2 separate regions of the Homo sapiens genome follow, and region 2 is linked to region 1. Evidence: promoter capture Hi-C in 16 types of primary human blood cells and fetal thymus (Javierre and others, 2016). All regions are on one chromosome and are shown on one strand. The core of a region is centred on a gene start or on the middle of the fragment in contact, and the rest is flanking DNA. Distances in the headings are between cores, read along the strand shown. Region 1 holds the start of ZBTB11-AS1 (ZBTB11 antisense RNA 1). Region 2 holds the start of ATG3 (autophagy related 3).

Evidence for each region. The method cuts DNA at HindIII sites, captures the fragments that hold promoters and counts their contacts. A CHiCAGO score of 5 or more calls a contact.
Region 2: the fragment with the promoter of ATG3 here is called in contact with the fragment with the promoter of ZBTB11-AS1 in region 1 in 1 of 17 cell types (total CD8 T cells); the score reaches 8.0 in total CD8 T cells.

What each region holds. Positions count from the first base shown.
Region 1 is chr3:101,672,033-101,678,890 of GRCh38, forward strand. It overlaps ZBTB11-AS1 (ZBTB11 antisense RNA 1), which reads left to right and starts at 4,398. Exons shown (of 1, transcript NR_024407.1): 1 at 4,398-6,858. It overlaps ZBTB11 (zinc finger and BTB domain containing 11), which reads right to left and starts at 5,100. Exons shown (of 11, transcript NM_014415.4): 1 at 4,573-5,100; 2 at 1-181. The coding sequence starts at 4,882. LOC124906262 (endogenous retrovirus group K member 5 Gag polyprotein) reads left to right here and starts at 4,413. Exons shown (of 3, transcript XM_047449415.1): 1 at 4,413-6,206. RefSeq lists enhancers at 1,844-2,344, 4,238-4,792 and a silencer at 4,152-4,521. The HindIII fragment of the contact is 10,842 bases long and covers 3,115-6,858 here.
Region 2 is chr3:112,558,512-112,564,647 of GRCh38, forward strand. ATG3 (autophagy related 3) reads right to left here and starts at 3,451. Exons shown (of 12, transcript NM_022488.5): 1 at 2,946-3,451. The coding sequence starts at 3,017. SLC35A5 (solute carrier family 35 member A5) reads left to right here and starts at 3,534. Exons shown (of 7, transcript NM_017945.5): 1 at 3,534-3,762; 2 at 4,874-5,022. The coding sequence starts at 4,893. RefSeq lists enhancers at 2,213-3,022, 3,023-3,832, 5,453-6,136. The HindIII fragment of the contact is 1,809 bases long and covers 2,371-4,179 here.

The DNA.
Region 1 (6,858 bases), core at 3,148-5,647:
GTTGGAGATGAAGTAAAGTTGCTCAGGTCATCTTCCGATTCATTACTTTCTTCTCCAGATTCAAGGTCTAGTCCCAATTCTTCCAACATTTCTGAAACATCTGATATTGGACGGGATCGATCTAGTTTCTCCTGGCATTTGCTACACTGTTTAATGTAATCTTTGACTTGCTTCAATATACCTACAATGAAAATATTAACAAGTCAAATTTAATACTGTTAACTGAAAACAGAATATATTATTTAGTCTGTGCACATTAACACATTTCAGTACATATGTGCAGACATTCATGTCCCATAAAATATGTAGAGTTTATTAGAATGTAAAATATACTTTTTTCCCAAAAAATATAAAGTTATAAATGATGTTCTCCTGCTGAGGTAATTTTTTTTATTTATTCCCAGTTATTTGTTTCTCTAATCATAAGATGACTATATAGCTCCACCCATTTTCATGTGAGTTGCAATGTTTTCATGCAAGAGGAACTATATGAAACTGCCAATATTCACCTTTTTTTGACCTACACAAATTAACAATTTAGGGCATGATGGCGCACGCCTGTAATCCCAGCTACTCTGGAGGCTGAGGCCGGAGACTCACTAATAACCCGGGAGGCGGAGGTTGCAGTGAGCTGAGATTGTGCCACTGCACTCCAGCCTGGGCAACAGACCAAGACTCTGTCTCAAAACAAAACCAAACAAATTAACAATTTAATATGGCTCAAGCTAATACTTCTCCACCCCAGTGACATTAGGCTTGACCGTGTGATTTGATTTGCACACATGTGATGTGTACCATATCTGAACAGAACCTTAAGAGGTACTGAGTATTTTGCACCAGTTCTCTGATCTTTGTCCCCTCTCACAAAGAACAGCAATGTCCCAGAGGGATGTTGTTCTTAAACCTGAATTTCAGATGAAAAAAGCTGAAACCAATCTGTAGCCTGGAACAGGACTACTACAAAACTTGTAATGAAAGTTTAAAATAAATCTTTTGTTTTTGAAAGTTATGAGATTTTAGGGTTGTGTGAAATAAAAGCATACACAATCTAACAAAAGTTGATTATATACAAGCCACTCACAAAAGATTTTGAATTTCAACTTCCAGCTCCCAGCATGCTAGGGTAGGGGTGAGGAGGCAGGGACAAGGCTTTATGTATATGTACACACATCCCACTATCATCCTTGTAAGAGAACAATTAATTCCCATTCTATACAAGAGGAAAATAAAGCCCTAAGAGGTATGTAGCTTGTCCAAAGTCACATCTAGTAAAATGGCAGAGCTAGGCCTCCAGAAGTCATGGGATTTTCGGTATATTATTCTACTTACACAAGAGCACGCTTGTCCATTCCTAGGGCAGAAAGTTACCCCCAAATCTTCAAATAAGTACAAATGAAAAGGTTATGAGGTAAAATGATAGAGGTATGGTATAGAGAATATTCCTGAAAAGTGTTTTAAAATGTCGAATTATACAAAGCTCCTTACACTTTTTTTTTTTTGAAATGGAGTCTCTCTCTGTTGCCCAGGCTGGAGTGCAGTGGTGGGATCCCGGCTCACTGCAACCTCCGCCTCCTGGGTTCAAGTGATACTCCCACCTCAGCCTCCCGAGTAGCTGGGATTACAGGCGCCCGCCACCACACCTGGCTAATTTTTTGTATTTTTAGTAGAGATGGGGTTTCACTATTTTTGCCAGGCTGGTCTCAAACTCCTGACCTCAAGTGATCTGCCCGCCTTGGCCTCCCAAAGTGCTGGGATGACGGGCATGAGCCACCTTGCCTGGCCACCAAGTTCCTTATACTTTCAATCTTCAAATAGTATTCAAGCAATATTTTCCAAATTGTATTATGTCCCACACTGATTATAAAAGTATACACTGAAGTCATAAATTCAGAAAAATTTTAGCTATATGCAATTGACATTTATTATTAGAACCTCTGACTTCTACGGTGAAGAAACCTGTTTAACCTAGGAATTTGTCAAATTTATGGATTCACAGAGACTGTTTTTTTTTTTTTTTGCAGAACATAAACAATGGGGCTTGGGGCGTGGCTCACACACTTTGGGAGGCTGAGGTGGGCGGATCATTTGAGGTAAGAAGTTCGAGACAAGCCTGGCCAACAGAGCAAAACAAAAATTAGCTAGGTGTGGAGGCACGCGCCTGTAGTCCCAGCTACTCCGGAGGCTGAGGCACCAGAATCACGTGAGCCTGGGAGGCGAAGGCTGCAGTGAGCCGAGATCGCGCCACTGTGCTCCGGCCTGGGTGACAGAACAAGACTCTGTCTCAAAGAAAAAAAGAGAAGAAAAGAAAGAAAGGAACAATGGGTTCGAGTTAAATATAACTTTATCAAAAAAGCATTTATATGAGTGTAGATTTAGAGACCAAAAGAGGTTGTATTGGCCGGGCGCTGTGGCTTACACCCGTAATCCCAGCGCTTTGGGAGGTCGAGGTGAGCAGATCATCTGAGCTCAGGAGTTCGAGCCCAGCCTGGCCAACATGGTGAAACCCCGTCGCTACTAAAAATAGAAAAATTAGCTGGGCGTGGTGTAATCCCAGCTACTCTGGAGACTGAGGCACCAGAATCGCTTGAACCCGGGAGGTGGAGTTGCAGTGAGCCGATATCGCGCCACTGCACTCCAGCCTGGGCAACAGAGTGACTCTGTCTCAATAAATAAATAAATAAAATAAATAAATAAATAAATAAACATCGTCTCAGGTTTTTGCCTTTTAAGACACTGCACACTAAAAATTAAAAAAAAAACAACTGGATTAGAATCACTCACAGATAATGAACTTAGAAAAAGAAAAATTCTGAACACAAAATACCACATAACACTGGGTTAAGAAAAGTGTGAGATCACAAAGGTCAGCTGTGTGACTTTTGTTGTGTTATTTAACATCCTAGTGCTTTTAGTTTTTTCATCTGTAAAACAGATAGAGGCTGAAAAGGGAGGATCATCTGAGCCTAGGAGGTCGAGGCTACAGTGAGCTGTGATCGTTGTCACTGCACCAAGCAAGACCCCCTACGCTCTGTCTCCAAAAAAGGGAGATAAGTATTAAGGTTTTATGAAGGTTAAATAAATGTCAAGGGCTAACGACTACATCCTGCATATACAAGCTTGATCAATGTTACCTATAGTTACAATTATCATCTTTAACAAATCCTGAAGTATTAAATCTGAGACATTTGTTCAACAAACTAATGTCTACCCAAACCCATCCAAACAAAATGCACTGATTACTTCATTACCTCATAATTTAATCTTCGCATTTGTCTGTCCTTACAGGAATTTAATTCAGATATTGGTTTAAAGTGGAAAATAAATGGAAGAATTTGATTATCCAATAGTTCGTAAACGAATAAACTTGATGATGTTTATAAACCGAAAAGAACTTTAGAAACTATTCAGTAATTTCGTTATTCACAGACGAAGTAACCAAGATTTGAATGAAATAACTTTTCTGTAGCCATATTGGAGAGTGACAGCACTGTTCCTAACAAAATTTCTTAAATGGGACTATAAACTATTAACTAATTCTGACAGTTTGAATATTCATTAACTGTGGAGAGTGAAGATGGTTAAGAAGCCAAGGACACTTGCTATCCTCCCTTACAACTGGTTCCCAAGGAGTCAAGTAACTTCAGAGCTGTATTTTTTGACAATCAAAAAGTCACAGTAATCGTACCTTTTCTGCGTATATACAATGCTACACAGTTCCCAAACGCGTTTTTCACATCATTAGGGGAAAGATTATTAAAACATTCAGAGTTACGAATATCAAGCTGGGCGCCGTGGCTCATGCCTGAAATCCCAACACTTTGGGAGGCCGAGGCGGGAGGATGGCTTGAGGCCAGATGGAGACCAGCTTGGGGAACGAGGCGAGACCCGTGTCTACTCAAACACCCCGCCCCCGCAAAACCAAACAACAAAAACAGTAACTGATATCTTTTACATTTACTTCTTGTTCTTAAAAAAAAACGCTCAAGGCGATTTCTCAATCACTCCTTATCACTTCTGCAAATAATTGTATTATTCCTTATTTACGCAGCAGCGGCAAAATTTGAGGAACACTAGCGAATGTGTCCAGAGCAGCTCATACTCGCTCGCCAAAACCCAAGCGCAGCACTAAAGAAACGGGAGACCCGGCTTCGGGTGACTCGTCCCCCCTTCCAAACGTCAGCACAGTCGAAAACGTGCACCCCGCAGCCTCCACTGCCGCGAGCCACACGCCACCTCCAGAGGGCCGGGGCCTACAGCCTCAAGGGGCCGCCCAAGGAGGCGGACCTGGCGCAGCCCAGGCGTCCGGCCCCTCCCCGCGGCTGGCCCGGCCTCCGGGGAAGCCCCCTTGGTCCCACCCAGGGCCAGGGCCCGCCCCCAGCTTCGCCGGCCTCCTTCCTGTGGGAAGTGCGGCTCCTTTCGCGTCCCCCACCCTCTCGGCTCCGCCTGGCAGCAGCTCCGCCGCCCAGAGGCGTCCGAGACCCTCCGACTCGTGGGTACGCATAGGCCTCGCCAGCGAGCCTTGCCCAGGCAACGAGTCGCCAGCCCGCCCCCTCGCCGCGGGCTAGGTCTCACCTCGCCACCAGTACGTCTTGGACAAGTAGTGCCAGGTCTGATGCCGGGTGTGGTGAGTGCCGCCGGGACCCAGGTGCGCCGCCTCGATGAGGTCCCGGCGTCGCTCCGGCTGCAGCACCACCTCCAGCTCCGCGAAGGTCTTGCGGTGCCGCTGCCGCCGCTGGTAATACAGAGTCCCGCCGCGCACCACGTAGCAGGCGGCAGCTTTTCGGATTTTACGCTTGACATTGCCCTCGGTGCCCGGCGCATACGGCTCGCGCTCGTTCGTCAGGTAACGCAGGATGGCCCGGTAGCTTTCCTCGCTTGACATCGCGGACCGCGGCTCCCTGAGGGCGCCTGTCAGGGACAGGTGAGGAAAACGGCCCGCTACCTACGGGCGGCTGCAGGAGGAGCGGCGGCACCGTAGGGAGAAACGGCTGCGCCTTTGGCGAGCGCTCTTCGACGGCTCCCTTAGTCCGAAGGAAAAGCGGGCGAGTTGGTAACCAGGGGGAACTGCACTTCTCCAGCGCGCGGGATCCGCTGGCGACTGACAAAATGGCTGCTGCACCACCGGAAGTGACGCAAGGCAAGGGCGGGGACTGAGCCCTGATTGGAGCGCACTCTCGTTTTCTGGCTTGATGGAGCCGATCCAGTGACGTCAGGAATGCGGGTGGACATTTTGGAAGCGGGTAGGACCCTTCACTGCAGTTCGAGGGAGTCTTTAAGCAGACATCTTAAGTCCTGGCAGTTTCTCTTTTCATTTTTCCCTTTTCCACGCTTTCTAAGGAGCCACGTGTAGGGGGAGCTGGTGGACAGTTGAGAGTTCAGCCGAAACATCCAGAGGGTTAGGAGTCCGTTTTTACGTTTGAGACTCCCAACATCATAAAAGCATATTTTCAGGCTTCTGGAAAAATATTAGTCTCTTGACACGGGACCAGAGACAGCCCATTTACATGGAAATTTAGATTCCAGTTAACAGTTATAAAATTTTCAGTGCCTCCCTCAGTGATGAGTTATTGTTTCTAAACTTGCACCTGCTAGCTCCAGACTACTCAAGGAAGAGTCGAGATTCTTTTGGAATTATCAGCATTTATAGTCAATGTTATTGCGAGTGGAAAAGGGGGTCGGTAACACTATTTTAAGGCTTTATTTACATATATTTTTACACAAACGTAGGGGAAAAGGTTCTCCATTTTGCACCAAATATATATGAGGGTGCAAGAAGGGGAGCGGACTTGAGCTGCGTCTCCCAGTGCGTGCTGAGGATGCTAATACAGGTATTTAGCTGGTAATCCCGGAGCAGCGACCCCGGTCACCCTTTCCTGGGACGAATCTGCAGCGCTCACAGGGGCCCAGGGCTGACATCCCTCCTCGGGGACTGGGGTTGGACACTGTCGCCGCTTTGCTAAAGCCAGAACATTTCAGGCCGAGGGCTCCAGCTGCAGACACGGCCTAGTACACTTCTCCACCGGAGGGTCTGTAGTCTCTGGGTGAGGCCCTTTGACGCTCCTAGAAGTAGCTGACGGGCAGACAGGTGAATACAGTAGGCTCGAAAACAGAATCATACAGCCAGCCTCTGGTGTTAGGGGCGTGTTTTTGTGTGTGTGCACACGCAGTAATTCCCGGATGGCCCGGACATCCTTGAAAGATTCCAGGTGCGGGGACATGAGCTCTCAAGGCCCAGAAGAAAAAAGAAACTACCAGGCTTGGGATCTACTTAGTTGCTGAGTTTGCCACTATAGCTCAAAGGAGGAATTTAAAAATGGAGATGCACCTCTTTCCCCCATGGGGTCGGGCAGTGAGAGCAGAAGACCAAATGCACCCTCTGCGAACCCAGGAGGCTGGTCTACGTGTCAGGCCAACCCCACTCTCCTGTCATACTGTCTTTAAATATTTTGGCCGGGCGCGGTGACTCACGCCTGTAATCCCAGCACTTTGGGAGGCCGAGGCGGGCAAATCACGAGGTCAGGAGATGGAGACCATCCTGGCTAACATGGTGAAACCCTGTCTCTACTGGGCCTGAAGTCCCAGCTACTCGGGAGGCTGAGGCAGGAGGATCGCTTGAACCCGGGAAGCAGAGGTTGTAGCGAGCCGAGATTGTGCCACTGCATTCCAGCCTGGGTGACAGAGGGAGACTCCGTCTCAAAAAAATAAAAAAACTAAACATTTTAAGTTAATTGATATTTAATATTAAATATTTAATATATTAAGTGAATACATTCAAATCTGCAAACAATACAGCTAGGTTGTAGAAGAGTTAAAAAAATCCCTCCACTCAGTTTTTGCCAAAACACCACCTGTAAGCAC
Region 2 (6,136 bases), core at 2,201-4,700, about 11 Mb after region 1:
CAATAGAGCACATACAAAAAAAAATTAGTCTATCTATCTAATCTATAATCTATCTAATCTACCTATCTACCTACCTCATTGGTATCTATCTATATCTATCTATCTGTTTCACTCACTGGTAATGACCACAGGAATATACAAGTCTAATGTAGGAAACAGACATGAAAATAATTATAATACTATCAGATCAGTGCTATAATAGAGTAAAGCTCTATGTAGAAACATTCTTTTTTTTTTTTTTTAAGATGGAGTTTCACTCCTGTTGCCCAGGCTGGAGTGCAGTGGCGCCATCTTGGCTCACGGCAACCTCCACCTCCCGGGTTCAAGCGATTCTCCTGCCTCAGCCTCCTGCCTGTAGCTGGGATTACAGGCATGTGCCACCATGCCCGGCTAATTTTTGCATTTTTAGTAGAGACAGGGTTTCTCCATGTTTGTCAGGCTGGTCTCGAACTCCTGACCTCAGGTGATCCACCCGCCTCGGCCTCCCAATGTGCTGGGATTACAGGCGTGAGCCACTGCGCCCGGCCAAGCTCTATGTACAAACATTCTAAGATTTAAATAAAAATAAAGCCTTACAGTGATTCTGTGAAATGAACAAATACCTTTATTTTACAGCACAGCAAAAATGTCTTAAAGATGTTTAGACATCTTACAATTCAGCCAGTCTTATTTAAACTGAATAATGTTAGAAACCAAATCTAGAAATTATTTAGCATTTTCCTCTAATTCTCATCTCCACCAAGATACTGACACACTATTCTCTAAATTTTTCTAAACTTTAAGTTATATGTAAGATTTTCTGGTAGAGTCTACAAAAATGAAAACACTCATTTATAAACATTATTCATTCAACAAATGTTTACTATGTGCCAGACACTATTTGAGGCAGTGGGGATATTTGGGGGTGAATAACATAAATACAAATTTATTCTTGCCCTCATAAGGAGTTTCAACTCCAGTTGAGGAAGAAAAGCCAAATGGTAATGAATAACATACCATAAAGAAAAATGAAGCTGAGAGGAATCTGTGGGGTGGCTGGGGAGAGATGGCCATTTAAAATAGAATGGTAAGAGAACAAAGACTTCACTGAATAATGACTTAAAAACCTTAAGGAAAGGAACATGCCATAAGGCTGTTAAGTGCGAAGCGCGTTTCAGATAGAGGGAAGAGCACATGCAAAACCCCAAACCAAGAGTGTGCTTAACAGAATAATAAAGAGATCAGGTTAGCTTAAGCAACAGCAGTCAGGGGATGGAGCAGATGAGATTGGGGCCTCTACCAATTAAGCAGAACCTTAGAGATGATTGTAAGAACTTCAGTGTTTACTGCATGTACATACTCCAAACAAAACATGATTTTTCTTAATTTTTACTTGCTAGGAGAAGGCTATTACTTATTTCCTGAGGATTTTGTTCTTTCTCCTTGCCCTCCCTAAGCAGGAAACTGTAAGGATTCTCTCTGTAAACAACAGTTTGCACAGGAGTATCAAGGAGACGGTCATTCATTCTTTCCTTTTTACTAAAGACATATACCATACATACTGACATGCCAACAGTTCCTTTTCAGTTTGGTGAGCAAGTATGATGGACTCCTGAAAACATAATTCTACATCATACATTTTATATTTCATTTGGGCAGTCTCTTGCTCCTCTCTCCCGGAAACTAAAAAGTTGTACAATGGTGTATTATTAAAATACTGTATACCTAGGTAGATATGATATTCTGAAAAGTTAACATAATTATGTAAAAGCATTTGATTCAAATGTGAAAATTATTTTCCAATCTTAGTTTGACTGAATAATCTTAAAATGACTTTCACAGTAAACAAATGTAAGCAAAGCAACAGTTGAAATTCTCATTTATAATCGCTGGTTTATTTCTTACTTGGCCAATAAGTTATTCTTTTAAAAGGAGCTTTACAAAAACGTATTTTAAAAAGTATAGACCTAGTACTTCCCTTTGTCATGGAAAGGGAGCAAAGCAAAACTCTCCACTATTCTTAGCATATTAAGGTATTTCACCCCCACACTGAGATTGGTACATTCTAACTGAAAGCTTAAAAACAACTAGAAAAAAAAAACAAAAACTAAGCAAGAACTTCCCATTAATTTACTATTCTTGCTCACTTTTCAGAAAGCAAAAATGAAGTTACAACAAAACACTCCAAAAGAGTTATAAAAGAAAAGCTTGAAGGCAGTTGTAGAAATTTACCTTTAAAAAAAAAATCAGTCACTACTGTAACAGCTAATGTGTCACAATTTTTTACTTTAAAAATGCTGTACTGTTGCCAATATATTTTTAAAAATTATACAGCCAGGAAGGTCAAACCGTGCCTTGTTATCACTAATAACCAGCTACGGCTATCTGAAAAGCTTGGGAAAAAGGTTTTGCTCGTTAGATGGGTTCAAGGTTACTGAATGAGATAATGTTGCCAATTTCACCTCCTTCCTCTGAAATCTAAACGAGTTGGGATCGCAGTCACAACTTCCCCACTACAGCGGACTTTCATGAAACTTAAAGGAAAAGTGACCTCACCTCAGGTCTCTTTTGACCTCTGTGTGTCAAACACTAAATTCATTTTTTAAAGAGAAGCAAAATCCTTGCTTAAAAAGGCTAAAAGACTTCCAGTGTTTGGATTTAACGTTCTTCAATCTACTCAGCCTCCGAACACCCTTCCAACCCGACGTACCCGACCGCGCAGAGTTATGACGGGAGAAGGCAGGAACACGCAGAGCGTCGCTCCAAGTTTACCCCTGAGGAGTCAGAAAGCCCTAACGAACAGCCGGTTAAGACTACGGGTGGGGGCTGCACACTTCCCTGTGTCTCGAGCCCTACTGCCTTCCTACACCTTGCCCCGCCGGAGAAAGCGGGGACTCCTGCGGCGCCTGGTCCCTGAAAAGTCGAGCATGTGCCTGACAGCTCCCGGCAACCCTGGCCTGGCTTACCTTGAGGACCGGGGTCAGGTACTCAGCCACTTCCAGTGCCTTTCCCTTCACAGTATTAATCACATTCTGCATCCTGGGGCCGGAGTAGCGGCCGGCCCCGCGACGGGATGGAAAGTGCAGCCGTGTCAGGGGCCAGGGAGTCAGAAAATGTCCTCGCTGCCACCGACTCGCATCAGCACCCGGCTGGCAGCACCCGAGGGGACGGGACGCGACGCGACGGGACGGGCGGGACGAGGGGGCGGGGCGGCAGGCACAGCGCGCGAAGACGGGGTGCGCGATCCTCGCACCCCAGGCAGCCCGCGACGGACCGGACCCAGCTGTCACCCAGCCGCGAGGGAGGGCAGCGGGGCCGAAGGGAGACCTGAGGTGAGAAGCGGACGCACACGCACCCCTCGCCCTCTGCGAGCTGTCTGTCCTCGCTTTGCTTCACTCGCGCCCCTTCCGGCTTCCCTTCCTTCTCACTCTCTTGCCGTAGCTGCGCCGCCACCGGGGCCTCACGTGACACTAGACTCTCCCGGCACGTGACGTGAGAAAGGGGCCGGGCTGGGGCGGGATAAGCCGCTTCTCCCCTCCTTCCGGAAGCGTAACACTGAACGTGCCTGCGCAATGGGTGTCGGGTCCGCTTTTTCCCAATCCGGACGTAATCGTGGTTTTTGTTCTGCAATAGGCGGCTTAGAGGGAGGGGCTTTTTCGCCTATACCTACTGTAGCTTCTCCACGTATGGACCCTAAAGGCTACTGCTGCTACTACGGGGCTAGACAGTTACTGTCTCAGCTCTAGGATGTGCGTTCTTCCACTAGAAGCTCTTCTGAGGGAGGTAACCGCGCCCCGCGGGCAAGGAATTGCGCCTGCGTCTGAGGGGAGGGTGCGCCAGTGAAGAGCCCTACTGCGCATGTGTGACTAGAAGGGTAGTCCCTGACTGTGAAGGGAAATCTGGCCCCCTCCTGTCGGGGAGGCGTCCTGTAGGCGTGCGCCCAATGGGGCTGTCAGTATTGGCATTTCTCCCCACTCCCCGCAGGCTCTATGCGCTATTCCTACAGTACGCTGGGAGGCTTTGGGCAAGTTACTTACCCAACCTGGGGTTTAGTGTCCTCAGCCTATCAAAAGAGGGCCTTAGATTCATTGATTTCTACGATCTCCTCCATTTCAAACACTAACTAGTTCAGTAAAACTTTACAGCAGTGTTTCAGATATTTCCATTTTGGTCGTTATTGTAATGAAGTCTGTCCTAATAAGCTTTTTCCTCCGAGGGAAAAGAGGAGGAAAATACAATTCTGAAAGCCTTATCTTACAGCAAAATTATTTACTAATAAGAGTAAAAGCGAGGCCGGGCGCGGTGGCTCACGCCTGTAATCCCAGCACTTTGGGAGGCAGAGGCGGGCGGATCACAGTCAGGAGTTCGAGACCAGCCTGGCCAACATAGTGAAACCCCGTCTCTACTAAAAATACAAAAATTAGCCGGGCGTGGTGGCGGGCGCTTGTAGTCCCAGCTATTCTGGAGGCTGACGCAGGAGAATCGCTTGAGTCCGGTAGGTAGGGGTTGCAGTGAGCCAAGACCGCGCCGTTGCACTCCAGCCTGGGTGACAGAGCGAGACTCCGTCTCAAAATACATAAATAAATAAAATTTAAAAATAAAATTCAAAATTGCTTTGAAGAATTCTTTTCTGCTGTTGCAAAGTGTCATTTGCTCACCTGCTACCTTTGTCAGCAGGTCTAATCTGGTTCTACGTTTTCTGTCTCCAGAGTACTCCCTCTTATCAGATTTTCACTTTCCTTTTGTCATAGTTTCTTTATGCCTCAACTTTCTTGGTGCTGATATAGTCATAGCCAAAATTTTTTAAAAATTCCTTTTTTGTCCTCACGATCAATGGTATTTGCGTTTAGGGTCTGCCAACAAGGTCGTTCATGAAAGTGTTTTTCTCTTTAAGGTAATTAAAAAACAGTGGAATGGAAAAACAGTGCTGTAGTCATCCTGTAATATGCTCCTTGTCAACAATGTATACATTCCTGCTAGGTGCCATATTCATTGCTTTAAGCTCAAGTCGCATCTTACTAGTGAAGTATTCTGCCAATGAAGGTAAGTTAAGACTTGGTATATGCATGGAGCACTTCCATCTAATCACACATCTCTCTCTTGCCTTTGGTTCTGTTATATATAACATGGAAATAATAATGCCTTTTGCTTCATGTGAGTGATAAAGCATATTTAAATTTGATTATTTAACCTTGCATTCCTCAACAAGAAAAAATGTTTGATAATGGATGAAATGTGAGTCAATCAGATACAAAAATCAAACCCTTTGGTGAAGAACCAGTCGTAACATTTGACTGTTAATTCAATCAACAGGTGTTTCTGGACCTATAGCAAAATGTGTAATTGCGCCTTATTTTGAAGTAGAAGGATATATTTGTTTGGTCACTTGGCATTTGTGAGGTACTTACTATTGTAATTATTGTATCAATGGTAAGGTGTCAGCATTATATTGTGCGGTCATATTGTATCAACAGTATAAATTATAAGCTTTGATAAGTATGTATTTAAGAAATCTTTTTTTATGTAGGGATTTAAGCAAACACTTTAATTCCACAAAACTGTATTGAGTACTTCTTACTAGTTATTGAGTGAAGGGGTGGGTTGCCCCTCCACATCTGTGGGTGTTTCTCGTTAGGTGGAACGAGAGACTTGGAAAAGAAAGGGACATAGACAAAGTATAGAGAAAGAAAAAAGGGGGCCCAGGGGACCGGCGCTCAGCACACGGAGGATCTCTGCCAGCCTCTGAGTTCCATTAGTATTTATTGATCATTATTGGGTGTTTCTCGGAGAGTGGGATGTGGCAGGATCATAGGATAGTAGTGGAGAGAGGGTCAACAGGTAAACACGTGAACAAAGGTCTCTGCATCATAAACAAGGTAAAGAATTAAGTGCTTTGCTTTAGATATGTATACACATAAACATTTCAATGCCTTAAAGAGCAGTATTGTTGCCCGCATGTCCCACCTCCAGCCCTAAGGCGGTTTTCCCCTATCTCAGTAGATGGAATATACAATCGGGTTTTACTCCGAGACATTCCATTGCCCAGGGACGAGCAGGAGACAGATGCCTTCCTCTTGTCTCAACTGCAAAGAGGCGTTCCTTCCTCTTTTACTAATCCTCCTCAGCACAGACCCTTTACAGGTGTCGGGCTGGGGGA